Regions from separate parts of the Homo sapiens genome. Here all the other regions are linked to region 3. The links are contacts of gene promoters, found by promoter capture Hi-C in blood cells and fetal thymus (Javierre and others, 2016). All regions are on one chromosome and are shown on one strand. The core of a region is centred on a gene start or on the middle of the fragment in contact, and the rest is flanking DNA. Distances in the headings are between cores, read along the strand shown.

What was found. Contacts are between HindIII fragments. The CHiCAGO score rates a contact against its expected background, and 5 or more counts as called.
Region 1: a fragment that was not itself captured here is called in contact with the fragment with the promoter of PRDX6 in region 3 in 1 of 17 cell types (megakaryocytes); the score reaches 5.6 in megakaryocytes.
Region 2: a fragment that was not itself captured here is called in contact with the fragment with the promoter of PRDX6 in region 3 in 2 of 17 cell types (neutrophils and fetal thymus); the score reaches 8.1 in neutrophils.
Region 4: a contact is called between a fragment that was not itself captured here and the fragment with the promoter of PRDX6 in region 3, in 2 of 17 cell types (neutrophils and monocytes). The highest score is 5.7, in neutrophils.
Region 5: a fragment that was not itself captured here is called in contact with the fragment with the promoter of PRDX6 in region 3 in 7 of 17 cell types (megakaryocytes, erythroblasts, fetal thymus and 4 more); the score reaches 9.6 in megakaryocytes.

What each region holds. Positions count from the first base shown.
Region 1 is chr1:173,801,068-173,804,308 of GRCh38, forward strand. CENPL (centromere protein L) reads right to left here. Exons shown (of 6, transcript NM_001387287.1): 5 at 1,896-2,438. Among named protein-coding and RNA genes, the nearest start is that of DARS2, 22 kb to the right of the region's middle. The HindIII fragment of the contact is 4,338 bases long and covers 1-3,241 here.
Region 2 is chr1:173,872,653-173,875,441 of GRCh38, forward strand. It overlaps ZBTB37 (zinc finger and BTB domain containing 37), which reads left to right. Exons shown (of 5, transcript NM_001122770.3): 4 at 815-914. Among named protein-coding and RNA genes, the nearest start is that of ZBTB37, 5.7 kb to the left of the region's middle. The HindIII fragment of the contact is 1,484 bases long and covers 558-2,041 here.
Region 3 is chr1:173,475,969-173,478,979 of GRCh38, forward strand. It overlaps PRDX6 (peroxiredoxin 6), which reads left to right and starts at 1,367. Exons shown (of 5, transcript NM_004905.3): 1 at 1,367-1,524. The coding sequence starts at 1,430. It overlaps LOC100506023 (a long non-coding RNA gene), which reads right to left and starts at 1,187. Exons shown (of 3, transcript NR_037845.1): 1 at 664-1,187. RefSeq lists enhancers at 372-908, 1,406-1,565 and a silencer at 1,166-1,335. The HindIII fragment of the contact is 1,817 bases long and covers 1,055-2,871 here.
Region 4 is chr1:173,985,562-173,988,455 of GRCh38, forward strand. All of the region lies in intron 2 of RC3H1 (ring finger and CCCH-type domains 1), which reads right to left. Among named protein-coding and RNA genes, the nearest start is that of RC3H1, 35 kb to the right of the region's middle. The HindIII fragment of the contact is 2,861 bases long and covers 186-2,894 here.
Region 5 is chr1:173,846,677-173,849,643 of GRCh38, forward strand. The region is part of intron 12 of DARS2 (aspartyl-tRNA synthetase 2, mitochondrial); the gene reads left to right. Among named protein-coding and RNA genes, the nearest start is that of GAS5-AS1, 15 kb to the right of the region's middle. The HindIII fragment of the contact is 1,515 bases long and covers 507-2,021 here.

The DNA of each region.
Region 1 (3,241 bases), core at 489-2,988, 330 kb after region 3:
TGAAAAACATGAATATAGTGCTTATAGAGTATTGACTTATTGGATCTACGAGGTAAGAGTTCAAATCTTGATTCTTCCTCTTGATAATCTATCTTGCTTGTCATTTAAACCTATCTTGGCCTCAGTTTCCTTGTTTTAAAATAAAATGTGGATAAAAACACCTAACTGTCCAGGCACGGTGGCTCATGCCTATAATCCCAGCACTTTGGGAGGCCGAGGTGGGTGGATCACTAGGTCAGGAGTTTGAGACCAGCCTGGCCAACATGGTGAAACCCCATCTCTACTAAAAATACAAAAATTAGCCAAGTATGGTGGTGGAGCCTGTAATCCCAGCTACTCGGGAGGCTGAGGCAGGAGAATTGCTTGAACCCAGGAGGCGGAGGCTGCAGTAAGCCAAGATCACACCACTGCACACCAGTCTAGGCAACAAAACAAGACTCCATCTCGAAGGAAAAAAAAAAAAATCTAACTAGCCAGGCATGGTGGCTCATGCCTGTAATCCCAACACTTTAGGAGGCCAAGGCAAGTGGATCATTTGAGGTCAGGAGTTCAAGACCAGCCTGGCCAACATGGTGAAACCTCATCTCTACTAAAAATACAAAAATAGCTGGGCATGGTGGCAGGCACCTGTAGTCCCAGCTACTCGGGAGACTGAGGCAGGAGAATCACTTAAACCCAGGAGGCGGAAGTTGCAGTGAGTTGAGATTGCACCACTGCACCCCAGCCTGGGTGACAGAGTAAGACTCCGTCTCAAAATAAATAAATAAATAAAGATAAAAATAGTAAAAAAAGTAAAATTACAAAAATTAGCCAGGTGTAGTGGCTCATGCTTGTAGTCCCAGCTACTCAGGAGGCTGAGGCACGAGAATCGCTTGAGCCTAGGAGGCAGAGGTTGTAGTTAGCTGAGATAGCACCACTGCACTCCAGCCTGGGTGATGGGGTGAGATTCTGTCTCAAAAAAAAAAACAAAAAGCACACACAGAAAAAACACCTAACTACAGGGTTGCTCTAAAGATTAGAATTTAAGTCTGTTAAACTCTTAGCACAGTAACAAGATCACAGGAAACATTTACTGAATGTACATTGTGGCTGTGTATTTTAATATATTTTAGGAGCCAATTCTCAGTTTATTTCTGATACTTTTTTTTTTTCTTTTGAGACGGAGTCTCGCTCTGTCACCCAGGCTGGAGTGCAGTGGCGCGATCTCGGCTCACTACAAGCTCCGCCTCTCGGGTTCACACCATTCTCCTGCCTCAGCCTCCCCCAGTAGCTGGGACTACAGATGCCCACCACCACGCCTGGCTAATTTTTTGTATTTTTAGTGGAGACGGGGTTTCACCGTGTTAGCCAGCATGGTCTCAATCTCCTGACCTCATGATCCGCCCGCCTCGGCCTCCCAAAGTGCTGGGATTACAGGCGTGAGCCACCATGCCTGGCCTATTTCTGATACTTCTTATCAGAAATCACTCTGTAGAGAATAAAACAATGTCTCTATTATTTCTTTCCCAATGAGGACAGAAAAGCCTGGAACATAAAGATGACATCTTAGTTCTGTGTTTCTGGCTATAATTTTGTCTAACACAAAATTCTCTATTACTCTGATAATTATTTCAAAATTTCACAAGGAACAATTCTGAAAGTTTCAAAGTTACTACAAAATAATAATTCACATTATTACCAAAAGCTGAAGCACACAGCATATAGTGTCCTTCCATTATAAGGCTATATCTAGAAGGCTAAAGACTGCAATAAACCATAAACCATAAAATAAAAGCTCTCTATTGTCTTGAATACATTCAAGTGTGTTTCTTCAATTGAGTGGACAATACAATCATCATACATTTTTAAAACCATAAAACAAGGAAAAATTACTTAACTAGATTGTTCAAACTAACCTTTATTTTTCCATCAGTATGTGCTGAAGCTACAGATGTTGAAACACGAACTAATCTTGTGGCTGATAAATGAATTTTGAAATGTCTATGGAAATGTGAATAAAGGCAATCCATGAATAGGTCAACTTCTTCCTGGGTAACCTCCCCAGGTGTTTTGTGGACACTGTCCCATAGAGCTTTTGCATCCTCTGGATGTATTGCGAAAGAAATGTCCAGACTTTGAGGGCTACAGGGTACAGACCAAAGAAATTCAGTAGTAGCCACATAATGGTCCATTTTGCATGCAGTCCACATGGCAGCCATCCAGGAAAGATTAAATGCATTGATTGCTAAAGGACTGAAATAACAGTCAAAGGTTTTCTGAAACCAAGTTCCAATTATTGCTGTGTTAGACTCTGCTCCATTTGCAAGGAATAAGGGCAGACAGGTGAAATCTTCTGAAACAGTCTCCAGAAGACTGTCTCCAAATACACAGCAGAACCAGCCAGTCCACAGCACTTTACCTTCTCTATTCTCAGATGGCAATTGAGATTTTGACACAATCTACAAAGAAAGTAAACAGGCTCCTTAAATTCAAAAGTACATTTACTTCTAAATTCCATCTTCTCAAAATTAGTTCATTAAAAATAAGACGAGCCAATGTAATACTTGCAAAAAAAAACATAGAGGGAATAGTCTCCCTAATGATTAACAGGGCTTATCAAAATAATTGGCCTTTTTTTTTTTTGAGATGGAGTCTCACTCTGTCGCCCAGGCTGGAGTGCGGTGGCGTGATCTCAGCTCACTGCAACCTCCACCTCCTGGGTTCAAGTGATTCTCCGGCCTCAGCCTCCCAAGTAGCTGGGATTACAGGCATGCACCACCATGCCCAGCTAATTTTTGTATTTTTAGTAGGGATGGGGTTTCACTGTATTGGTCAGGCTGGTCTCCAACCTCTGACCTCAGGTGATCTGCCCACCTCGGCCACCCAAAGTACTAGGATTATAGGCGTGAGCTACCAGGCCCGGCCCCCAATATTCTTATACAGTGGAAACATGATATATGGCAAAATCTTGGTGTAACCAAACTGCAAAATAAGAGCTACCAATATGGCATAACCAGGTGTAGTACCCTGAAACAAACAAACAAAAAAAACCCCTCAACTTTAGAAAGAACTGTGAAAGGTCACAAAATCTAACATGTTTGAATTCTTTCATTGAGGAAGGCTTCAATATTTCCTAAGGCAGCACTATCAACTTAAAATGTTCTTTTATATGTTAGACCCTACAGTTTCTACCCACTGGTCCTGCTTTCTTCCTTTTGGGCATGCAGAATATAATCACATCTGATCTCTCTTCTACAGGAAA
Region 2 (2,789 bases), core at 50-2,549, 400 kb after region 3:
AACCAGATACCACCTGTTCCATGATAACTTATGGAAATAAAATTTTAAAAAAAACTATCAGAAGTAATATCAGGGCCAGGTGTGGTGGCTCACACCTGTGATCCCAGCACTTTGGGAGGCTGAGGCAGGTGGATCACTTGAGGCCAGGACTTTGAGACCAGCCTGGCCAACATGGTGAATCCCATCTCTACTAAAAATACAAAAATTAGCTGAGCGTGGTGGCACGCACCTGTAGTCTCAGCTACTGGGCCAGCTGAGGCAGGAGAATCGCTTGAACCCAGGAAGTGGAGGTTGCAGTTAGCTGGGATCACGCCACTGTACTCCAGCCTGGGCAACAGAGCAAGACTCTGTCTCAAAAAAAAAAAAAAAGTAATATCAATTTCAATGCAAAGATTTTTTAATCTCCATGATCTATATCAATAGTCTAAAATACAGATTATTATGGGACCTTGGGGAAGAAACAGCCAAAAACCTGGTAATTACGTAGAAGAAACAAAATTATAGGCCCCGTTTTAATTTATTCTTTTATGGTCTCCCAGTATTTATATAAGGAAGAAAGCTTATATTTAGCTTTAGCTTCACCAGCTCATATGTTCTATCTGTTATGTCATTTTGTGTTTATTAAATTTACTAGGGCTAACCTATTATTTCAAATCAGATTATGTATTAACTCCACAAAACTATTCCTCAGTTATTTGTTGCTTGGTTTGTTCCCCCTTCCTCAGCCATAGAATAAAGAGGGGCGACATCACCATTTTTCAGGTTCTTTGATGCTGCTTTTGTATTAGTCCCCTTTATGTTCCTCTTCCAACAGATTTAGCCCCTCCGGCAGTGTTGTTCCCTTGACAGAGAGACACAGAGCCAGAAGTGAGTCTCCTGGGAGAATGGATGAGCCTAAGCAACCCAGCTCCCAGGTATGGAGTTGTGGATTTAGAACTGCTTTGGTGGTTGGAGGAATTGCTACTGTGTATGAATAGAAAATAATGAAAAAGAAAAGATGTAGGAGAGGTAACAATGGCCCTGTTAAAGAAATACTGTATTTTTTTTCCCTGAGGGTAGCAGAAGTTTAATATTAAAATTATACAGAGACATCACCAGAAAGGAAAATTGCAGACTGGTATTTCTACCAAGCATAGATGCAAATATTTTGAAAAGAACATTAACAAATTAACACTGATAGCTGGTTTAACATTTTAAAATTAATCATTGTAATCTGTTTCATTAATAAGGAAAAAGTGATAAATTACATGTGGCAATTTTGATAAATACAGAAAAGAACAATTGGCTAAAACTCTTAGCAAACTAGAAATACAAGGGAACTGGCCGGGCGCAGTGGCTCGCGCCTGTAATCCCAGCACTTTGGGAGGCCGAGGCAGGTGGATCACCTGAGGTCCGGAGTTCGAGACCAGCTTGACCAACATGGAGAAAACCCGTCTCTACTAAAAATACAAAATTACCCAGGCATGGTGGCACGTGCCCGTGATCCCAACTACTCCAGAGGCTGAGGCAGGACAATGGCTTGAACCCGGGAGGCGGAGGTTGCTGTGAGCCGAGATCACACCATTGCACTCCAGCCTGGGCCACAAGAGTGAAACTCCGTCTCAAAAAAAAAAAAAAAAAAGAAATACAAGGGAACTTTCTTAATCTGATTGAAAGTATCTATCTAAAAAATCTATAGAAAACATCTTTTTTTTTTTTTTGAGACGGAGTCTCGAGTCTCACCCTGTCGCCCAGGCTGGAGTGCATGGAGTGCAGTGGTGCAATCTCGGCTCACTGCAAGCTCCACCTCCCGGGTTCACGCCATTCTCCTGCCTCAGCCTCCCAAGTAGCTGGGACTACAGGCACCTGCCACCACGCCCGGCTAATTATTTGTATTTTTGAGTAGAGACGGGGTTTCACCGTGTTAGCCAGGGTGGTTTCGATCTCCTGACCTCATGATCCGCCTGCCTCGGCCTCCCAAAATGCTGGGATTACAGGTGTGAGCCACTGCACCCAGCCACTGCACCCAGCCCAGAAAACATCTTAATAGTAAATTATTGAAAGCTTCCTTCGTGTGATTGGGAATGAGACAGAATGTCTGCTACCACCACTTCTACCCAGCTTTTTATTTGTAGTCCTAGTCAATGCAATAAAGCAAGAAATACAAATTTATAGCATAAGGATGACAAAGCAAGAAATAGAACTTTTGTTATTAGTAGACAGCCTGACTTGTTATGTAAAAAATGCAAAGTTAAATACTGTATTTGATTACTTTTTTTTTAAAATTCTTGCTTGTGGGCGTGCAGGAAAATACACTTTCGATGTCAGCAGAGTTTGGGAAATATAAAAAAGTAAGATTGTGGAACTCTTTCCTGATTATAATAACCACACTGTAGACCTGATAGTAATAAAAAATAATCCCAGAAAACCACATACAGGTAATTTGCAGGTAATTTAGGACCTGGAATCGAAAGTCTGATTATTATGTGTGTGTGTGTGTGTGTGTGTGTGTGTGTGTGTGTGTGTGTGCACGTGTGTACTGTATATACTATATGTAGTATACACACACTATGTATACTATAGTATGCACACACTATATATACTATATATACTATGCGTAGTATACACACACACACAGTTATGAAGTTACTAATTTGTAGCATTTTATTTATATATATATGTGTGCATATATATATATATTTTTTTTTTTTTTTGAGGCAGTCTTGCTCTGTCACCCAGGCTGGAGTGCAGTGGTGTGATCTCGGCTCGCTGCAATCTCTGCCTCCTGGGTTCAAACGGTTCTCCTGCCT
Region 3 (3,011 bases), core at 117-2,616:
CCCATCCAGAGGATTTTTCTCATCTCTGAACTCCAATCATTTACACCTTCCCCCATCAGAATTTACCCTACATTTTATTATAATTGCATATAAATATGCCTTCCCTGTAACAGCAGGGACTGTGTTTCTCCACTGTATGGCCTGGCACAGTGTCCAGCACACAGCAGGCAAAGCAAGAGTTACTGCATGAGCCAGTGTCATCATCCAAACGATAGCTACCATTTCCAGAGCACCTACCGTGAGCTGACTAGTTTACCTACATTATCCTGGTGGCTTTCCCAGACCAGACCACCCAAACCAAAGCAGCCCCCCAGTCACCCTCTAGGCACATAACCCTATTTTAGTTCTCTGAATACGACTGATTGCTGTCTAACATATTTTGGTTTGTGTGCTTATTGTCTGTCACCGGTTTCCCTTCACAAGAAGGAAAGCTCCAAGAGGACAGGCATCTTATCTACCTTGTACTTGGCTCATAGCAAATAAATGAATCTAAGCCGCCCACCTCCCTGGGTGACAGAGTTGACCTGCACACAGTAGGTCTCAAAGAGTATGTTTTAAATTTTATATTTAGATTTCAAGATAATTGTGTTGAATATTTTATGGTTCATAACAAACAGAAAGGGGAGGGCAGAATAAAAATAAATAAAAGTTTAGTTACATTACCCTAGCACTGACATTGGTACGGGAATTTTTGCTGCAATAAGAAAGCCACTTCCTCTGACATAAGGTCACCCATACTTCTGGGTCTTGCCACATCCTCTTAGACAGTTCATCGTAGCTGGGCTGGCTGGGGCGGTCAGGACTCCAGACGCTCACACTAAAAGAGGGGTGGTAGTCGAGCAGTCACTCCACTCCTCTGTAGGGAGCTGGCCGCGAGTGGGTGCGCAGCAGGGTGCGCGCGGACCCGTGCAGCGCCCAGGGCGGCTGTGCGAAGCCGCCGCAGCCTGCGCGCCCAGGCGATTCTCCACCTTGGGGCTCGCCTTCCTGCCGCGTTCCTCTTCCTTCCATCCCTAAAGCGCGTACGCCCTGCAGAGTCAAACCTGGCGCATCCTCAAGCTTCCAGGGGGCAACGTGACCGAGCCCCGCATCACGTGTGCAGAGACGGCCTATAGTGTCTGAAGGATGCCACCTAGTCGCAGGCCCGGCGGCGCCACCAACAGCGACCGCGGTAGTCCAGCTCGCGCCGCGTCCCGGCCCCAGCCCGGCCCGGCCCAGCCCCGCCCCGCGCCCAGCCCCGCCCCGCCCCGCGCCCAGCCCAGCCCCCGCGGCCCGGCCCCCAGCGGCCGGCCTCCCGCGGCCCCGCCCCCGCCGCCCCAGTCCCCGCCCCTCGCGCCTTCGTTTATTCCTCCGCGCGCTGGGACAGGCTGCTTCTTCGCCAGAACCAACCGGTTGCTTGCTGTCCCAGCGGCGCCCCCTCATCACCGTCGCCATGCCCGGAGGTCTGCTTCTCGGGGACGTGGCTCCCAACTTTGAGGCCAATACCACCGTCGGCCGCATCCGTTTCCACGACTTTCTGGGAGACTCGTAAGTGGCCACCGCGTAGCCCTGTCCTGGCCTCGGTTGCGCCGGACTCGGAGGTGCCTTCCCTGTTTCTTCTCCCTGCCGTCCTCCCGGCCGCTCAGCCCCCTGCGCCGCCCTCGCCTTCCCCCGCACTGGTTCCGGCGCGCGCCAGGCCGTGTGGCCTCTGCTCAGCGTCGGCTGCGCTGCTGGGAGCTGGCACCCGTTCGGCCTGCCCTGCGCGGGCCACTCGATCCCTCCTGGCCTCCCCGCCTCCGGCGTGGCTGGGCAAGGCCACGCCAAGGTGGGGGGTGGGGAGGATAAAATTGTGTTCTGCGGGTTCTGGAAACTCACCGCCCGCGGGAGGGTTTGTTGTCCATTTAACTCGTCTTAGTAAACTGTGCAGGTAGCGTGGTCAGGCCGAGGGCGCAGGGGCGGGGCGGCATTGACGATCACTTCCCCGGACTAGTGCCCAGGGTCGCACCGCCCTCCCACCCTCCGTTCTGGAATTTGCTCCCTGGGGAGGATGGGTGTCTAAAGCCAAAGTCGGAGGACACAGCTGCTGGCTATAGGTTACAGGAAGGCCAACGTATCATCTGAGGGTGCAGTGGTATTTGCAGGCTTCTGGGCACAAAATGTGAAATTTAAAACCACTAGCTGCCAAGTAGGTGGCCGAAAGACTTTTTGTCCAGAGCCGCCTCCAATGGCCAAGATATGATTTGATAACAGCTTTAGGAAGAGCCAAGAACACTCTGCGTAGGTGTGCCTTCAGAGATTCCAGAACTTGCAACACTTGGAGGGAAGGACTTTCTGACGCTGTTCCGCTGGAGTGGCCTATTCTTGCTAGTGATGGCCGTTCCAGGCTCCAGGACACGTGTACTCCCCAACTTTGAGACTCTCTTGTTTTCCAGTGGCTTGCCCCTCACTGTCCCCTCCGCTTTCTACCTTGCTTCTAGCACATGAGCTTGCTGATGATAGCCAAATTGATGACCTGTGATCTGACTTGGCAGTTTTACCATTATGGATAGGAGTAGTAAATCGGTGTTGCCCTTTTTTTTTTTTAACAGCTCCTGAATCAGCAAACTGGAAGTTGCTTAGTTTTCATCAGAAGCATTCCAGGCATGTCTAGTTATATTATGGTTCTGGAGTACTAGTGGTCCCACTACACTGTGGGGCTCCAAGGCTTGACAACAGTTCTTCCCCAGATTATATCCTTTTTATATACAGTATCCAGGGAGACAGGCTTATGAAATTAATCAGTGATTGGACAGGGCTGTGCAGAGAACCAGGGACAGATTCTTACACATCATATGCCTATCCAACCCTTTATAACCTCTTAAGTCCCTTTTCCAGCCACTGAATAGGGAAAAGTTAAGCTTTGTGAAAGATAGGACTAGGCCAGAAAAAGGTTGAGAAATGGAATATTCAAACCTTGAATGCAGAAAAATACTTTAGAAATACAGCTTATGGCCATTCTTATACTTAGGATCTAGGTAGTAATATTTCTCCAGCAA
Region 4 (2,894 bases), core at 366-2,865, 510 kb after region 3:
GGGTACAATGTGACGATGTGAGATGACTAAATCAGGTTAATTAACAAATCCATCACCTCACTTTTTTTTTGTAGATTTTAAATAAAATCTACTCTTTTAGCAATTTTGAAACATACAATGTATTACTATTTATAGTCACTGTTCTGTGCAATAGATCACTAAAGGCATTCCTCCAGTCTAACTGAAGCTTTGTATTCTTTGATAATTATCTCTTCTTCCCATCTACCTTCCTCCCACTTCCCTGTGGTTTTGATTTGTATTTCCCTGATAGCTAATGATGTTGACCATCCTTTCATATGCTTATTATCCATTTGTATATCTTCTCTGGAAGAATATCTATTCAGATCCTTTGCCCATTTTGCCTAGTAAACTTTATTTTGTAGAACAGTTTTAGATTTACAGAAAAATGGCAAAGATAGTACACAGAATTCTCATTATCCTGTATTCAGTTTCCCCTATTATTATTATTATTATTTTTGAGACGGAGTCTCCCTCTGTCACCCAGGCTGGAGTGCAGTGGCACCATCTCGGCTCACTGCAACCTCCGCCTCCTGGGTTCCAGCGATTCTTCTGCCTCAGCCTCCCAAGTAGCTGGGACTACAGGAGCAAGCCACCACACTCGACTAACAATTTCCCCTATTATTAACATCTTACACTGGTATGGTACATTTGTTAAAATTAATGAGCCAATATCAACATATTCATAATTAACAACTAAAATCCATGTTAATCAGATATTAGTTTTCACCTAATGTTCTTTCTCAGTTTCAGGATCCCATCCAGGATACCATATTACACTTAGTCTTCAGAGAAAGAGTCTCGCTCTGTCACTCAGGCTGGAGTGCCGTGGCAGCATCTGGGCTCACGCCACCACACCCAGCTAATTTTGTATTTTATTGTAGAGATGGAGGTCCCACTACATTGCCCAGACTGGCCTCGAATTCCTGGGCTCAAGCCATCCACCCACCTTGGCCTCCCTCTCTCCCTCCATGTCTCTCCCTCTTTTTTTTTTCAAAGTTGAGACAAAGTCTCACTCTGTCGCCCAGATTGGAGTACAGTGGCACAATCTCGGCTCACTGCAACTTCCACCTCCCAGGTTCAAGAGATTCTCATGCCTCAGCCTCCTGAGTAGCTGGGATTACAGGCATGCGCCACCACGCCTGGCTGATTCTGTGTATTTTTAGTAGAGACAGGATTTCACTGTGTTGGCCAGGCTGGTCTCCAACTCCTGGCCTCAAGTGATCTGCCTGCCTTGGCCTCTCAAAGCGCTGGGATTACAGGTGTGAGCCACTGCGCTAGCCCTTCAATATCTCTTTAAGCTCCTCTTGGCTTGGACACTTTCTCAGACTTTCCTTGTTTTAATGACCTTGACAGTTTTGAGGAGCACTGGTCTGGTATGTTGTAGAATGCCCCTAAACTGGGATCTAGGATCTGTCATTTTTCTCATGAGTATATTGGGGTTATGGATTTTTGGAAGATCATAGGGGAAAAGTGCCATTTTTTATCACATCATATCAAAGCTACACACCACCAACACAACTTATTATTGCTGATGTTAAATTTGAACAGCTGGTTTAGTCAGTGTTTACCAGGTTTCTCCACTATAAAGTTACATAATCTCCACAAACTGTACTTTTTGGAAGGAGTCACTATGCGTAGCCCACACACATTCTACATCCTTGAGAGCAGAATATCTATGTAATTAATTTGGAATTCTGCACGGGAGATTTGTTTCTTTCTTCCATCTATTTATTCAATCATTTAATTGTATCGTGTAGACTCAAGGATATTTATCTTATACCTGGGTTATGATCCAATTCCATTTATTTTGTTGTTCAAACTGTTTTAGCTTTGGCCATTGAGAGCTCTTTCAGTTGGCTCCTGTGTGCCTTTGATATAGCCCCCATTACTCTGTGTATGTGTCTGTGTGTGTTTTGAATACTTCTCTATACTTTCCAGTGCTACAAGCTACTCCAGACTCATTTCGTGTATTTCCTGTCCCAGTCTTAGAATTAGCCATTTCTCCAAGGAACTCTGGTTCCTTTTATTGGAGAATGGTATTAGAAACCAAGATATGAATGCTATGTATGCACATTACTATTGGGGTGTTGTTCCTTCTAGGCCATCTTAGATGACAGACCAAGGAAATATGTCACTGTAATAACCCGAGATATACATTGTAATAACCCGAGATACACACGAGATATCTCGTATATCTATTTCTGTATATAACCATCTGTATCCATATCAAGCTAAAAATGAGTTCATACTGATGCCTCCAACTCCAATCCATTATCACATGAATCACTCTAACCTCTTCCTCCTTGTTTATCTGTTAACTGGCTCCAATCATTTCCCATTCACTTACTTAACTGTTCAATTCTAATATGTATTATACATACAGCAGTATCAGAATTAATTCGTACCCCCATGGGAAAAGACTAGAGTACACTGCTTATAGATAATATCTTTCTCTATCTTTAATCTTACACAATCTACCTTTCTCCTACACCCCTTTAGTGAAATTGTTTCATATACTTCAGATTGTCTTCCATAATCTTTGTAAAGTTCTACAGTTTTTGACAAATTCAGAGTGTCATATAGCCACAATTACAGAATCATAAAGAACTGTTTTACTGCCCTAAGAAATACTGTTTCACCAATTCTATCCTCCCTCCCTACTCCTGAATCCATGGCAACCACTGATACTTTTATTGTTGCTATGGTTTTACCTTTTACAGATATCACATAATTGGAATCATACAGTATGTGGCCTTTTCATACTGGTATCTTTCACTTAGCAATGGTATACATTGAGATATATCTATGTCTTTTTGTGACTTGACAGCTATGTCTTTTCATTATTTCATTTTATACAATGTGCCATTGTATGG
Region 5 (2,967 bases), core at 14-2,513, 370 kb after region 3:
TCCCAACTACTTGAGAGGCTGAGGTGGGAGGATCACTTGAGCCCAGGAGATCGAGGCTGCAGTGAGCTGTGTTCACCCCACCGCACTCCAGCCTGGGTGACACAGTGAGACCCTGTCTCAAAAAAAAAGGAAAGAATCTTAGGTATGATAACAGGAATAAAATGAAACCATATAGGAGTAATTAAATTATGCTATAATCAAAGGAATTAATATTAAAGTTCCTATTTAAAATCTTGTTTTCTAAGACTTAATAGAGGAAAAATGCTCTTATAATGATATGTAAGAAAAGGAGGCTATAGGACTATATTTATACTGATTATAACCATGTAAAAACACTATATTTGTATATTGAAAATGGACTACCTACCTCTACTACCACTATTTCCCAAGCCTCATACCTCAAGCACAACGAACAATAAGTAGATTTTTATATAAGAAAAAAAGATCAGGTTAGTGGTTCCCAAAATGGGTTGAGACAAAATCAGAAAAGTCAGGGCAATATAACAAGCTTTTCATAAAGTTAAACAAATTTAAAGAACTATCCTTTTTTTCTCTGTCGGCGGTGGGGATGGCGGGGGGATGAAATATGTCTTTTCTTTATAAAATTAAAAATTGGCAACCCTTTATCTTCCAATTTTGTTTATTTTTATTTTATTAGTATATAAAATCTGCATCTAAGAACCATAGGACCAGGAAATAAGCCTGAAGGTTAACTTTGGCAGCTTTCAGTTGATGGGACTATTATTACATTTTCTTCTTTCATTCTTCTCTCTCTTCTCCTGTTTTCTTTTTCTTTCCTAATTTCCTGAACTTTTATATAAGAAATGGGTATTACTACTACTATTTTTTATGAGTGTTTTAACTTGATTTGGCTTCTAATTGCTTTCAGAAGATCTTATGTGTTTTTAGCAACATATGGCATACACATGGTTCAAAAAATAAAGAACCATTAATGATGAAATGCAATAATCATTTGCTCTAGCCTGCCCCATCCATCCTAGTATTCTGCCAGAGTATCTCTGTTTTTGGAAATATCTCTACATACTTTTTTTTTCTTTTTACTTAATTCATTTAAACCTTGTTAACTTCCTGTCATGAGAGATGAGGCTCACATATACAGACCTCACCTAGTTACTCTGTACCTTCTGCACAGCTGTCTTTCTGAACCTTTTTTTTTTTTTTTTTTTTTTTTTGAGACGGGAGTCTCACTCTGTCGCCCAGGCTGGAGTGCAGTGGTGCCATCTCGGCTCACTGCAAGCTCCGCCTCCCAGGTTCACGCCGTTCTTCTGCCTCAGCCTCCTGACTAGCTGGGACTACAGGCGCCCGCGACCACGCCCGGCTAATTTTTTTGTATTTTTACTAGAGATGGGGTTTCGCTGTGTTAGCCAGGATGGTCTCCATCTCCTGACCTCGTGATCCGCCCACCTCGGCCTCCCAAAGTGGTGGGATTACAGGCGTGAGCCACCGTGCCCGGCCCTTTTCTTCATTCTTTTCTGAGTTGAAGCCACCCATCCTGGATCCCAGGTTTTCCTCTTTCTTTTTTGTGTTGGAGTATGTAATCAAGTAACTTCCTAAGAAAGCATGTGAGAGATCAACTTACTGAGTTCTTACAAAATGTCTTTATGTTTAAAACCTCACACTTGATCAATAATAATTTGGCTTAGTACAAAATTTTGAATTGACAGCCATATCATCTTAGAAGAGTGCTGTCCAATAAAACTTTCTGTAATGATGGAAACGTTTTATGTCTGCATTGTTCGGTGTAGTTGTTGCTAGCCAATGTCGCTAGTGAACACTTGAAATAGGATAGTACAACTAAAGGGCTGAACTTTTTACTTTATTTCATTTTAATTAATTTAAATGTAAATAGCAACAGTGCATTGCTAGACAGCACAGCTTTAGAACATTTAAGGCATTGCTTTACTTTCTTCTCCCATCTGTTGTTACTGATGAGAAGTCTGATGCTTTGATGCTTGTGTGAATTTATTCCATTATAGCAGAGCTGGTTTTTTCTCATTGGAAGCTTTTTGCCTTCTGATTCTTTATGTTCTGAAATTTCAGAGTTTGTTTGCCTTTTGATCATTTTTCATTTAATGTGTTACACACTTGAAGAGCCCTTTCAATACGAAGGTTTATGTCTTTTTATGTGTAGAAAATTATTTTATTATCTAATGATTTTGACCTCATCATTTTTTCTAGTCTCTCTTTGGAATTTCTACTAGTTGTATGTCAAACCAATTTAACCTCTTTTCTTTTGCATGTCATTTTTCACCATTTTCTTTGTCTTGTTCTATTTTCCTGGGGATTTCTTCAACTCTTCTGTTGAATTTTTTTTTATTTCCCAGTAGCTTTTTTCACTGCATCTTATTCTGGTTTTATTCATAAAATATATTTTTGAGTACCTTTGAGGATTCAAGTTCTCTTTTGGTCCATAACTTATGTTTTCTCTGGGGCTAATTTTTTGGGTTTATCTTGGTCTTTTTTTTTTTTTTAATGCTGCAGAGTTTCTTCAATGTACAGTGATTGTTGGTTATCTGTACATATTCAAGAAAGGGGCATTTTAAAAGCTGGTTGGGGCCGGGTGCAGTGACTCACGCCTGTAATCCCAGCACTTTGGGAGGCCAAGGCGGGCAGATCGCTTGAAGTCAGGAGTTTGAGACCAGCCTGGCCAACATAGTGAAACCCCGTCTCTACTAAAAATACAAAAATTAGCCAGGCATGTTGACACACATCTGTAATCCCAGCGACTAGGGAGGCTGAGGCAGGAGAATTGCTTGAACCCGAGAGGCAGACTGCAGTGAGCCAAGATCAGGCCACTGCACTCCAGCATGGGTGACAGAGCGAGACTCCATCTCAAAAAAAAAAAAAAAAAGCTGGTTGGAAGCTCAAGAGAGAGGCTTTGTAAATGGTTAGGTTTAGTTTAGCATGAGCAGCAAGGCTGCTCTAGGCACTCAAGGCTTAAGAGTC